Regions from separate parts of the Homo sapiens genome. Here region 2 is linked to region 1. Evidence: promoter capture Hi-C in 16 types of primary human blood cells and fetal thymus (Javierre and others, 2016). All regions are on one chromosome and are shown on one strand. Each heading gives the region's core, a stretch centred on a gene start or on the middle of the fragment in contact. The rest is flanking DNA. Distances are from core to core; before and after follow the strand shown.

Evidence for each region. Contacts are between HindIII fragments. The CHiCAGO score rates a contact against its expected background, and 5 or more counts as called.
Region 2: a fragment that was not itself captured here is called in contact with the fragment with the promoter of AKAP10 in region 1 in 4 of 17 cell types (fetal thymus, total CD8 T cells, total B cells and 1 more); the score reaches 7.3 in fetal thymus.

The regions. Positions count from the first base shown.
Region 1 is chr17:19,976,093-19,983,144 of GRCh38, forward strand. It overlaps AKAP10 (A-kinase anchoring protein 10), which reads right to left and starts at 1,736. Exons shown (of 15, transcript NM_007202.4): 1 at 1,500-1,736. The coding sequence starts at 1,587. RefSeq lists a silencer at 1,444-1,633 and an enhancer at 2,106-2,819. The HindIII fragment of the contact is 5,200 bases long and covers 1-5,044 here.
Region 2 is chr17:21,036,017-21,043,309 of GRCh38, forward strand. USP22 (ubiquitin specific peptidase 22) reads right to left here and starts at 6,995. Exons shown (of 13, transcript NM_015276.2): 1 at 6,649-6,995. The coding sequence starts at 6,819. RefSeq lists a silencer at 6,681-7,280 and an enhancer at 6,816-7,293. The HindIII fragment of the contact is 633 bases long and covers 3,576-4,208 here.

The DNA of each region.
Region 1 (7,052 bases), core at 486-2,985:
ACAGAAGACAGAAAAGTAGGTTAACTGGTCTGCCCCTGTTACAGTTAGCAGCAGAGCTGTCATATGAAACCAAGTTCGATTTTGTTTAGTGCTTTTTCCAAAACCCATTTCTGGCTGGCCGCGGTGGCTCATGCCTGTAATCCTGGCACTTTGGGAGGCCGAGGTGGGAGGCCCACTTGAGGTCAGGGGTTCAAGACCAGCCTAACATGGTGAAGCCCCGTTTCTACTAAAAATACAAAAATTAGCCGGGCATGGTGGGGCATGGGTAATCCCAGCTACTTGGGAGGCTGAGGCAGGAGAATCGATTAAACCTGGGAGACAGAGGTTGCAGTGAGCCGAGACTGAGATCGCGCCATTGCACTCGAGCCTGGGCAACAAGAGCGAAACTCCGTCTCAAAACAAAAAAAGAAAACAAAACCCATTTCTGTCTGGTACTTTTTTTTTGAGACGGAGTTTCGCTCTTTTTGCCCAGGCTGGAGTGCAATGGTGCTATCTCGGCTCACCGCAACCTCCGCCTCCCAGGTTCAAGCGATTCTCCTGCTTCAGCCTCCCAAGTAGCTGGCATTACAGGCATGCGCCACCACCCTGGCTAATTTTGTATTTTTAGTAGACACGGGGTTTCTCCATGTTGGTCAGGCTGGTCTTGAACTCCCGATCTCAGGTGATCCACCCGCCAAGCCTCCCAAAGTGCTGGGATTACAGGCGTGAGCCACCGCGCCCGGCCTCTGTCTGGTACATTTTATCTGAAGCAACAGGAATTGACAGGAAAAATCACTGCTGTCCACAGACCCATACTTGCTCACTTCGGATATGTATTTTTAATGAAGTGCAACAACGTTACCCAGAATCAAAATTAAGCTGTTTCTACGTAAACATTGGGCAGGTAATACAACTGGAAATCAAAAATGTAAGTAGTTCGTTTGTAAGTTAGGGTTCCAGTAGTTAGCAAACTTGCCAAAGTCATCAAAAGTAGTGGTCTTCCTGTTGGGGAACTTTAGCAATAAGTAATTTTATTTTAGTAACAGCAGTAACTACCCCTCCCCCCAAAGAGGAAATTGGAAGACAGCACTGGGTGAAGAAAACAATTTTTTCACGTGTTGCTTTTAGACATAAAACCCTCAACATTTGGAAACTTCAGACTTCCATAATAAGGTTCTAAAGAGATTTCCTTGATCTTGATCCACGGTCCTCAAAGAAACACAAAAAAACTAACCCCCACCTAAGAACTGTTCTTAACCAAACAGGCAGGAACTTCTATGGGCTTTAGCAATCGCTTCTGAACCAGCGCGACAATACTCCTCTGACCTCGCGCAAGAAGGCCACCTTCTCCCTCCCAGAAGAGTCCCGGAGCAGAGCAAGGCACTCAGGGGGCATCTGCGCCGAGGTCGAGGCTCGCTGAAGGCCTTGCTGCCGCCTTGGGGAAAGCCCTCGCAGGCCCACCTGCCCCACCGCCGCCCCTGAGGCCCGGCCTGACTCCCCGCCGGCGCCCCCTCAGCTACCTTTCCGCCGGAAGAAGGACATGGCGGGGCCCGGGTCGGGACGGAGGGTGCGGGGGGACTGGCGCGGGGAGGGCCCGGCTCCCCTCATTCAGCAACCGGCCCGGACTTCCGGGTCCAGAGGGGCCGCTGCACTAGCGCGAAAAGGGACCCTTCTTCCGGGAGTGGGCCCCACCGCCTCCTCGGGATGCCCAGGCAGCTCCAGCCGCCATATTATCAACAAGCCGCCCGCCCGGAGTTCCGGTCCTTCCCCGCGCTAGGCTTCACGGGAGGTCAAGCGCCGGCCCCGCCCCTTTTCCCCATCCCCCTCCCGCGGGTGCAGGGGCGCACGCCCGCATCGCCCACGTGACCCGCGCGTGCTACCCGCGCCTCTTTCCCGGGCCCTGGGTGCCTGGAGCGAGCCACCGTTCCTGCAGCTGTTTTGTGGCGTCTGTCGCCGGCCCCCGGTGGAGCGCTGCAGACCCAGTCTCTGCAAAACTAACTCCCTGGGGCGGGAGCCCTCCCAGCAGCTGGAACGGGGCGGGCCTTAGGTCCCCGGCTTCCGGCCCCTGGGTACCCTTCAAATTGTGCCCTTCTAAAAGGCAGGGTCAACCCTGCCACGCTCCAGCTCGACCCCTCCTGCTCCTCCGTTTGAGTTTTGCTCACAGGCGCTGGCCGGCACGAGCAGCTTCACCCTGCACCCCAGTCCCTGCTTCCTCAGGAGAACCCGCCACGGCCTGCGGGTTCGAGGCGATGCAGAACCCTGATTAGGAAAAGGCACAACCTGCCGCATGCGGAACCAGCAGCTCCCTGGATCATTAGCGAATGAAAAGGGGAAGCGGGCTTATTTCGGAGTGCAGTCCCTGCGAATGCTCAACTTTGTAAGGGACTGCAACATAAAAGCCTCGCCAGTATTTAAAAGCTAGCTCCAGTGAATCATCCTTGCTCAAATGCCATTTTCCTGTGAATCTTCTGACCCTCTACTCCCAAAGCAAAATCAATCAAGCCTCCCTGTCTTTGGTGCTTCTTAACACCCGGCGAGTGCGCTCAGCGGCTGAGGTTGTAACTGCTCCCTGGGGTTGGGGTTGGGGAGGGCAGGAAGGTAATAGTAACTCAATAAATGTTCGCTGGGGTTTTTAAACCAATGAAGTTTATCATGTGACGGATGGGGAAACAGGCCCAGAAGAGACAACTAGCCCAAGATTGTTCAGAATGTTAGAAATACCAAAATTGTTAGAAATAGATAATCGGTGCCACGAAGAAAAGTCAGCACGGAGACAAAAGATCTCCAGCAAGGCAATCTTTACTTTCTGCAGAAAGGGTGCTCAATCGCAGATGGAACGATGTCGAGAGCACACCTGAACAAAGGAAAAGCAAACATATTTATCCCTTACGCATTTGGGTCGTCCTCACTGCTATGTCCTGCATCCATTGGCTGGAGCGGGACCTCACACTCTTAAACTGATAGCCGATTTGCTAATAGCCTAAAACTTTCTAAATAGGTAAGTGCAAGGAAGAACGAAGAAGGAGAGGAAGTTGCTTACCGAAAGGTTTAAGGAAGCAATAACATTTCCAAATAAGGAAGGGGCATAGGCTGTGAACTGGAACGTGCCTGTGAGCATGTCCAACAGTTACATAGGATAGGGCTTAACAAAGAGTTATTAGCACAAAGCAAGGAGGCTTGAAGAAAGTTAGTCTTTAAAATAAACTATTACTTCTAACACTTATGATGTATTCTTTAACAAGAAGGGGAACTTTGAAGAGGAAACTTTTTACTTTCTACAAGAATGTCCAAGTTTAAGACTATAACTAGAACCCGAAATAGGCAAATCCCTTAACCTGCTCTAATAATAATATGGTCTTTTCACTATATTGTTAGAGCAGGTTAAAAGATTTACTTATTTCATTTCTGGCCAGATGCAGTGGCTTATGCCTGTAATCCCAACACTTTGAGAGGCTGAGGCAGTCAGATCACCTGAGGTCAGGAGTTAGACCAGCCTGGCCAAGATGGCGAAACCCCGTCTCTACTAAAAATACAAAAATTAACTGGGCGTCGTGGCATGCCTGTAGTCCCAGCTAATCAGGAGGCTGAGGCAGGAGAATCTCGAACACGGGAGGTGGAGGTTGCAGTGAGCCAAGATCGCGCCACTGCACTCCAGCCTGGGCGAGAGGAAGACTCCTTAAAAAAAAAAAAAAAAAAGATGTGCCTATTTCGTTTCAGAGCATGGCATGTTTGCAAGTGCATGAAAGGTAACCAAAACTGACATGGAAATTTACTATGCGACGGTACTGTGCTAAACCCTCCAGATGAGTAATAGTCCTTGGAGTCAGTCCTGGTATCTGGAAAACTAGGCACTGAAAAATAAAGTCAACTGCTCAAGGTCACACGCTAACTAGGGATGAAGCCTGGATTTCAAGGTGAAGCCTTTCTCCAGTTAAGGACAGCGCGTCCAGGCGCACTGGACGGAAGCAGCGCTGGCAGAGGCTCCGGACGTCCGGAGTGAGCTGGCGCCGAATGGACGCGGTCTGGCCGCTTCCTCCTGGCCTCGGCCGGGCCTGCACCGGGAGGCTGAGCGGCGCCCCACCAGGGATCCGAGATGCCCTCGGGAGCCAATCTGTGTTCTTGGCGGACCACACCCCGCTGTCTGTAGCCAATAAAACCTTGGATCGTGCATCCCACCCCCACCAAAGGGAGATTGGCTGAAGCCAAGGACCCGGGCGCGGTCTACGTGGGATTTCTCTGCAGGCTGAGGGGACAAGTGGCTGTGTCTACCAGGGGCCCAAGTACAGGGCATCAGCAAGAAAGCGCAGCGCCCTTCTCCTGTTCCCTTCCAGCGTGCAGAACCTCGCAGGGGCTATTTTGTATGTGTTGTGTGGTTAGTTGGATGGGGCGGGAGGGACGTAGGGGAGGGGAGAGTGCGAGAAATCCCCTGAATGTCTCTGGCACGGGAGCAGATCCCACAGAGTTGGAGGCGGAGGACTCTAAGTTCCTCTAAATCTCCTCTAAGCCTTCCTCATTCTCTCCAGCTAAGCAGTCTGTGCAGAAGCAGTGCCTCACCTCGACTTCCAGTGTGATTTGCTGCCTTTGAGCCCTGCCCACCAGAAATTCTGAAGTCGCCGTAATCCCCGACAGCTGCATACACCTCAGTCATGATAATGGCCGTCATTATTTATGAAGTACTTATTATGCGCCCTCCTTGTATTAAGTGCTTTACAATTACTAGCTCACTTAATCCATAATTCCTGCCCTTCCCCGAAAAGAGACCCTGTGAGATGGCTGCCATCGCAACCCCCAATTTACAGATGTGGCCCTGAGGATCGGGGTAACTTATGTAGGATCATGAGGCTGTTAAGAGGTAGAGACAGGATTTCAATCGCTGTCAATCAGACTCCAAAGCCATTTGCTTATACCACTTTCTCCTATCTTTCTCTCCACCCACACATTTATCCAGGGTCCCAAAATGGGATGTCTGTCGGGCAGGTATATGGGGGTGAATGATATCTGGCAGTACATATTCTTCGGGTACCTTCTGAATCATCACCCATTAAAATGTTTATATGCTTAGGGAAGCTTGCTGCTAAGAGTATTGTCATTTAATCTTTTGAAATTTGATGATCCACATATGAGTAAAGTTAAAAGAAGAATTTAAAAATAACAAGAATATTACATTAGGCTGAATACGCAGCTGTGGCAAACTAATACCCTGCATTGTATTTCTGAATTAACTTCATAAAGTCATTTTAGTTTACATGTAAGATAAAATTAATTTTTATCAGGAGTTCCTTTAATTATGCTCCTAATTTTTGGGAACCGTCACAGTGTTGTTTTGTTTTATGTGTTTTTTTTCTTTTTTTTTTTTAGACGGAGTTTCGCTCTTGTTGCCCAGGCTGGAGTGCAATGGCGCGATATCGGCTCACTGCAACCTCCACCTCCCGGGTTCAAGTGATTCTCCTGCCACAGCCTCCCGAAGAGCTGGGATTACAGGCATGCACCACCACGACCGGCTAATTTTGTATTTTTAGTAAAGATGGGGTTTCACCATGTTGGTCAGGCTGGTCTTGAACTCCTGACCTCAGGTGATCCGCCTGCCTCAGCCTCCCAAAGTGCTGGGATTATAGGCGGGAGCCACCATGCCCGGCCTCGTCACAGTCTTTTTATACCAGTTGTATTAATTACAACAAATCAGTGAGGTAAAATCAGTAAGTTAATTATCACAAATCCAGTGAATGGTTTAATCTAACATTGTTTAAAAATCAATGAATAGTATTCTACAACAAACATTCTAACAAATATAGTTTATCAAACATTCATAACTTTTTTTTTCGAGACAGATTCTCATCTCACTCTGTCGCCCAGGCCAGACTGCAGTGGTGGGATCTCAGCTCACTGCAACCTCCACCTCCTGGATTCAAGCAATTCTCCTGCCTCAGCCTCCTGACTACAAATGTGTGCCACCATGCCTGGTAATTTTTGTATTTTTAGTAGAGACGGGGTTTCACCATATTGGCCAGGCTGGTCTTGAACTCCTGAGCTTAGGTGATCCACCTGCCTCAGCCTCTCAAAGTGTTGGGATTACAGGCATGAGTCACTGCACCCGGCCCTGGTTTTAGTTTTAATCAAATCAATTGTACCGAAAGGGGAGAAGAGAGAATTTAGCAAGGAAATATTTGAAAAGCTAACGGCTGACAATTTTCCTGTGGTGATAACAGAAACCAACACACTAATTCAAGAATCACTATGAACTGCAAACAAAAGAAATACAAAGAAATCTGCACACAGATTATTAATAACAAAACTTCAGGAAATAAAAATGAAGAAAAATTGTTAAAAATTGCTAGGGGTAGGGGAAGCAGATTACCTTCAAAGGAGTGCTACTTGGCCGGGTGCGGTGGCTCATGCCTGTAATCTTTGGGAGGCTGGGGCAGGCAGATCACTTGAGGCCAGGAGTTCGAGACCAGCCTGTCTAACATGGTGAAACCCCATCTCTACTGAAAATACAAAAATTAGCCGGGCGTGATGGTACGCACCTGTAATCCCAGCTATTTGGCAGGCTGAGGCAGGAGGTGGAGGTTGCACTGAGCTGAGATCACGCCACTGTACACCAGCCTAGATGACAGAGTAAGACTCCGTCTAAAAAAAAAAAAAAAAGAGGCTGGGCGCGGTGGCTCACGCCTATAATCCCAGCACTTTGGGAGGCCGAGGCGGACAGATCACGAGGTCAGGAGATCGAGACCATCCTGGCTAACACGGTGAAACCCCAACTCTACGAAAAATACAAAAAAATCAGCCGGGCGTGGTGGCGGGCGCCTTTAGTCCCAGCTACTCCGGAGGCTGAGGCAGGAGAATGGCGTGAACCCGGGAGGCAGAGCTTGCAGTGAGCCAAGATCACGCCACTGCACTCCAGCCTGGGCGACAGGGCAAGACTCTGTCTCAAAAAAAAAAAAAAAAAAAAGAGTGCCAAGTAAACAGCTGATTTTTTAAACAGTTACAGTGGATGCCAGAAGATTCATATTAAATATTCAATATGCTATAAAAAGTAACTGCTGGCTAGTCATGGCCCAGCACTTTGTAAGGCC
Region 2 (7,293 bases), core at 2,642-5,141, 1.1 Mb after region 1:
CAAGACTCCGTCTCAAAAAAAAAAAAAAAAAAAAAAAAAGGAATGAACTTTCAATCCACTCAATGGATACAATGGATATTGCTAGACAAAAGAAGCCAGTATGAAAAGGCTACAGACTGTATGAACCCAATGATATGACATTCTGGAAAGGGAAAAACCTCCGAGATGGAGACGAGACCAGTGGTTGTGGAGAGTTAGAAGGTGAAGCACAGGGATTTCTTGGGGCAGTGCAACTGTTCTGTACAGTACTGTAGTTGTGGATGCCTCTGTCAAAATCCACTGAGCTTTAAAGCACAAAGAGCAAACCTTAATATATGCGATTTTAAAAATAACTGATGAGGCCCTATGGAATGCAGGCTGAGGCAGAAGAAACCAATTGTATTACACATATAGGACACAACTCCGCCAAGAGGGGTGGGGAGGGAAGTACCTAAGTAATGTGGAAATGAGGAGGGAGTGTAAGACTAAAAGCAAAAGGAACTGTAACTGAGCACTGTACTGTAAGGGGGGGGGGGGTCAAGTCATTTCCCAAGGGAGTACAGGACAATTCTGAAACCTCTCTTCATGTATACCAAAGCACAACAGGTAAGTAAGTAGATTGTCGACAGTGGGAGCCAGCATTTTCTCTGCTGGACAGAGAAGTTACAGATAAACTGGAGGGGAAGGCTAGAATAATCCCTATAGAAATGGATTAGAGTTGGAGATATAAACATGAACTCATGTAGAGCTTAATAGGGATGCTGATGAATATATATCAAATTACAGACGTGTATATGCACGCATTTGTATATACACACCTGTTTCCCAGCTCTGTCCCTTGAGGGGGCCAAGAAGCCAGGATATCCCAGTAATGATGAACACACCAGTGCCCAGATCTTGAGATCTAATTCCATTCTCCCAAAAAAGAAACTAGGGATCCTTGGAAAATGCTGGAGTCTAAGGCTGGGGCAGAAAACACATAAGATGATCCCAGAACATCGTGTAGTTCCAGAAAGTAAGGAAGTGCTCAAAAACAACGAACAAAAAATAATGTGGCTATGTGAAAGGGACACCGGAGCCAGCTGAAAGAGCTCCCAGTGGATACAGCCAGATGATGGGAGCAACACAACAAACCACACAGCACTGGATGATAACCCAAAGCATACATTCAATATCCACAAGTCCATGTTGATATACACAAATGAATAAACACACGAGTGAGGATCAGCAAATCTTCCATACATAAACGTTCCAAATAATTTAAGTAGCTACTCCATCCTCAAGGAGGAGGAACAGAACTCCCCACCCCGGTAGAGTACCTATGCAGAGTGACTCCCTTCTATTATAAACAGTACATAAAGGAGGGAAAGAGTCACTCCACAGTGGAGAAACCTGGCAAACATGACTTCGGCCATTCAGTCAAGCCCAGCAACCCAAGACATCTTGACAGCATCATCCTTAATTTACGGGAATGAGAAGGGCACTTCATCTCCCTGGTCTTCCTTCCCAAAACTCATAACCACAGCTGAATCATGAGAAAAACATCAGAAAACCAAAACTGAGGGACATTCTACAAACTACATGACCGGGACTCCTCAAAACTCTCAAGGTCACCAAACAGGACAGCCTGAGAAACTGTCACTGTCTAGAAGAGCCCAAGAGGACGTGAAGACTCAAAGTAATGTGGGATTCTGAGACAGAATAAGGACATTACATAAAAACCAATGAGTTCTGAATAAAGTATGCAGTGTAGTTAATGAACTAAATACACAAACACAAATGAGTAGAAGTAAAAGCGGGGAAATCTGAATGAGATGGTGGATTATATTGAAGATAGACTGTATCAATGTCAATATTCTGGTGGTAATTGTACTCCATTTCTGCAAGAAGTTACCCTTAGAGGACTGGGGAAAGATACACAGGATTACTCTATTTTCTTACACCAGTATGTCAATCTACAATGACCTCAAAATTAAAACCTTAAACAGAAAAATGTTTACATTTTAGATCTTTTACTTAGACCCCACTTAGTATGAATGGTGTAATGTTTTGTTGTGATGATTTGAAAGATCCAGTTCACTATAAAATAAAAAGTAAATTCCTCAAAGAAACAAAGTTTTAAAGTATACTTTTAAAATAGCACATATCATCCCAGCACTGTGGGAGGCCGAAGTGAATCTCCTAAGGCCAGGAGTTCAAGACCAGCCTGGGCAACATAGGGAGACTCAGTCTTTTATTTTTTTTTAATAAATAAATAAATACAATAGCACGTATCAGGAAAATGAGCTAGACTATGAAAATAAAAACAAGTAATGAGAGCTCTCTACAATGTGCTCACCACCATCCCAGCACCTGGCTGAGCCAGTAAAGACAGACTGAGGCATTGTTGGATGGCTGGGAGAGGTGGCTCATGCCTGTAATGCCAGCACTTTGGGAGGCCAAGGAGAGAGGATCACTTAGCTCAGAAGTTCAAGACCAGCCTGGGCAACATGGCAAAACTCATGGCTACCAAAAATACAAAAATTAGCCAGGTGCGGTGGCGCATGCCTGTAGTCCCAGCTACTTGGGAGGCTGAGGCAGGAGGATCACTGGACCCCAGGAACTCGAGGCTGCAGTGAGCCATGATCATACCACTGCACTCCAGCCTGAGTGAGAGACAGACCCTGTCTCAAAAAAAAAAAAAATACATAAAAAATAAAAAATTTAAAAAAGTGTTTTGAGGACACAGTGCCATAAAATTTTAGATTCAAAGAGAGAAATGGTTTTAAAAACATTACCTGTTCTCCAAAGTGTCTATATTCAAAATATAATGTAGAATGTTAAATCATAATCACTTCCTGCCAGTTCCTATCTTTACAGACAAACCCTGAAATGGTAAGAAATTTGTTATATTTAACACACACCAAAAACACAAAGGAGACGCCACTGTGGTCGTGCCAGTCCTAAATCATGGAAATAGTTTTTTTCTTTTTTTTTGAGACGGTCTCGCTCTGTCGCCCAGGCTGGAGTGCAGTGGTGCGATCTCGGCTCACTGCAACCTCCGCCTCCCTGGTTCAAGCGATTCTCCTGCCCCAGCCTCACGAGTAGCTGGGATTACAGGCGCGTGCCACCATGCCCAGCTAATTTTGTGTATTTTTAGTAAAGACATGGTTTCACCGTGTTAGCCAGGATGGTCTCGATCTCCTGACCTCGTGATCCGCCCGCCTCGGCCTCCCAACGTGCTGGGATTACAGGCGTGAGCCACCATGCCCGGCAGAAATATTTTTATAGTCTGCAATACAAGAGTTTTATGGCAATTCGGGCCAGGCGCGGTGGCTCATGCCTGTAATCCCAGCACTTTGGGAGGCCAAGATGGGCGGATCACCTGAGGTTGGGAGTTCGAGACCAGTCTGACCAACATGAAGAAACCCCATCTCTACGAAAAATACAAAATTAGCCAGGCATGGTGGCGCATGCCTGTAATCCCAGCTACTTGGGAGAATCACTTAAACCCTGGAGGGGGAGGCTGTGGTGAGCCGAGATCACGCCATTGCCCTCCAGCCTGGGCAAAAAGAGTGAAAACCCCATCTCAAAAAACAGAGTTTTACTGCAATTCAAGCTTCTTTTGGACAGAAATTTATCAAGCCTGGTCATGTTTTTGTCATGTTCTGCCTGTTAAAAGAAGAATCAAAGTTTGGGTACAAAATGCATAATCCATCTGTCCTTAGATAACAAAACTCGTAATTCCTATTCATTCAGGGATTCATTTCTTTAAACTGTACCTGAGATGTCCATCTCAAAAAGTACCTTTGTTTGTTTACAAAGATTATAATTCAAGTTGAAGTTTGTTTTGAGATAGGTTTTGTTGTCCAGGCTGGAGTACAGTGGCACAATCATCAGCTTAAAGTACTTTTACAGTCAAGTTCATATCATTAAAACCAAAAATATGGCTGGGCTCAGTGGCTCTGGCCTGTAATCCCAGCACTCTGGGAGACAGGAGGATGGCTTGAGTCCAGGAGTTCAAGACCAGCCTGTGCAATATAGTGAGACACTGTCTCTACAAATATTAGCCGGTCGTGGTGACACACGCCCGTAGTCCCAGCTACTCAGGAGAGGCTGGAGTCCAGGAATCTGAGGCTGCAGTGATCACTGACCAGACCATTGCACTCCATCCTGGGTAACAGAGCAAGACTCTGTCTCTACAAAAAATAATTTTTAATAAAATAAAATTTAAAAAACAAAATGTCCTAAGCTTACAGATCTGATGGAAATCCTATGCAGATTGTCCAACTGTTAATCATCAGGTTTGTTAAACTATTTCCCAAACCAACTCTTCCTTAACTGGGCCACTAGAGAGTGCTAGAAATGCAGGACACCGCACATGAAGTGATACAGGTAAATAAGTCCCCCCAGTCAGAGGAAAAAGCATGGAGGGCTTAAGGGCTCCTTGCTGGCACACTGCCAACTGGCACTGCAGCAGCCCCCACCTAAATTTTGAAAGAAATATTTTTCACTACCCGACTACAGTTCAACTTCTAATTGGTGAATAACATACATGTGGCTCAACAGTTTTGAAACTAAGCAACTGACATCTGAAATTAAAAGATTAATCAGAGCCATAAGTAGCGCAAAAAAAAAAAGTAATTCTTAACTTTAGGAAATTAGGCAAAGTTAGTTAATGATGGTTTAAACTTGACTCCTTCTATTTGGTTAAAAAATACCAGAGGGGGGAAGAAAGGGAGAGGGAGGGAGGGAACGGAAAAAGAAAAGGAGGGAGAGGAAGAGTGGGGCGGTCCCCACTTCATCCAAAGTAGTAACAAATCTTGGGCGCGTCACGTCCCAATCCGGACACTACTGACCCAGAGTAGCAACAGCACATTCCCTGTAGAAGACTGGCTTCAACCAGGCCACCCTTTTTTTTTTTTTTCCGGAGGGGGTCTTGCTCTGTCACCCAGTCTGGAGTACAGTGGCGCGATCACTGCTCACTGCAACCTCCGCCTCCCGGGTTGAAGTGATTCTCCTGCCTCAACCTCTGGAGTAGCTGGGATTACAGGCGCCCGCCATCACACCCGGCTACTTTTCGTATTTTTAGTAGAGATGAGGTTTCACCATGTTGGCCAGGCTGGTCTCGAACTCCTGACCTCGTGATCTGCCCCCCTCGGCCTCCCCACGTGCTGGGATTACAGGCGTCAGCCACCGCGCCAAGCCAGGCCATCTTTTCTTAAAGACACACAATTCTACTAGCAAGACTCTAACTCCGATCCTGAAACGTTTTATGTCTGATTTTAGTTCATCCAGACATAACGCTACCTGATACCATTACAGATAAAAAAAATTTTGAGGCCGGGCACGGTGGCTCATGCCTGTAATCCCAACACTTTGGGAGGCAGAGGCGGGTGGATCACCTGAGATCAGGAGTTCCAGACCAGCCTGGCCAACATGGTGAAACCCCGTCTCTACTAAAAATACAAAAATTAGCCGGGCGTGGTAGCAGGAGCCTGTAATCCCAGCTACTCAGGAGGCTGAGGCAGGAGAATCGGCTGAACCCGGGAGGCGGAGATTGTAGTGAGCCGAAATCGCGCCACTGCACTCCAGCCTGGGGTACAAAGCGAGACTTCGTCTCAAAAAAATAATTTTTTTTTTGAATTACTGCTTAACATACCCTACAATCTCAGCGAGCCTGTTGGTATTCCCATAAATAAAAAAATGCCACTCAAGGTGGAAACTGCCCTCACAACTCCCAATCTCGGATTGTAATCTACAAAAGCGCGTGAAACTGTAAAAATAAACTTTATTCACATAGAAGAATCACGTTACGTTTTGATTTCCAAACCCTTACCAAGCCTAACTGCGGGACGCAAGACTGGGCTCCCCGAGGGGACTCACTCCTGGTTAAGGCCTCCCACAGCCCACGGCGCGCTTCCAAGTCTACTCCTCAGCCGCAACGCAAACCCGGGCTGTGGCTCCGCACCCACAGGCTCGCCCCGGCCCCAGCCCCTGCCGCCCTCCACCTCCAGCTCCTCGCGGGCCCCGAGGCAGCCGCGAAGCTCCGGCCCCGCGCCCCCCAGCCCGCCTCCTGCCCCAGCTCCCGTCCAAGGTCGCTCCTGGCGGCGGGTGACCGCTGCAGACCAACGCCCAGAACTCGACAGCCCCCCATCCTTTACTCATTTTTTTGAAATATTTCTTTCTCTGCACCCGCATCCAGCCCCGAACCCTCCAGAACCAGGAGAGTTCCCCGCAAGGACCTCGCGCAGGAACGCCCGGGACCGCCCACCGAAGTCCCAGGCTCCCCAGGCAGCAGGGCAGGAGAACACCACCCCCGGCCCGGAAGCACTCGCCCCTCCCGGGCCAAGAAGGATAAGGGAGGGGGAGGGCGGAGAGAAAGGAGGGGGAGGGGACAGAGAGGAGGGGGAGGGGACAGAGAGGAGGGGGAGGGAAAGGAAGAATGGGGGAAGGGGGGAGAGGGGAAGGATAGGAAGATGAGGAGATAAGGGAAGGGAGAGAGTTGAGGGGGGAAGGAAAGGAGGGGGAAGGGGTAAAGAGAAGAGAGGGCAGAAGGAGAGAGGAAGAGGAAGGACAGGGAAAGGCAACGGGGGAAGGGAAGAGGGCAGGAAAAGGGCCCCTCCGCCGGCCGGCCTCAGGAGCGGCAGAAGGCCCCGAGCCCGCCGCGCGGTGGGCTGCCGGGCGCACCTTGCGCTTGCGGGCCTCAGCCGTGCCGCTCCACACGAAGCACTGGTAGATGGCCCGCAGGTTCTGCTTCCAGTTGTCCACCTTGAAGCTGCCCAGGTGCGAGCAGCCCGGCGGCGCTACCGCCAGCTCGGCGTCCATGGCCTCGCCCTCGGGCTCTGGCCGGGACACCATGGGGGGCAAGGCCCGGCCGCGCGCGGGGGGCGGCGGCGAGGGAGGCGAGGACGACGCCAGCGCGGCGTGGGGGCTGCTCGGCGGCTGGCCAGGCTGGCCAAGGCCCGGGCGCCGAGAACAAAGCGCGGAGGCCGGACAAAGATGGGGCTGCGCGATCGCCGAGGGGAGGCTGCAAGGCAGGCACCGCCCCCGAGCTGCGGCTGCTGCGGACCGCCTGCGCTGCGCTCTCGCGGTTCGCGGAGGGTGTCGCGGGGCGGGGCGCCGCGGCCGCGGACGGAGATTACGTCACCCCCCCCCCCCCTCCCGGCCGGCACCGCACTGCGCAGTCTCCAGCCCGCGCCAGGCCCTTCCCCCACACTCGCGCGCCCGTTAGGCTCTGGGTAGACCCGCGCCCGAGGAAGCGTGGTAGGGGGGGGAAGCTAACGAGGGCCCGCCCCTCCCCTTCCTTTATTGGTAGTAGGCCACCCCCCCCCC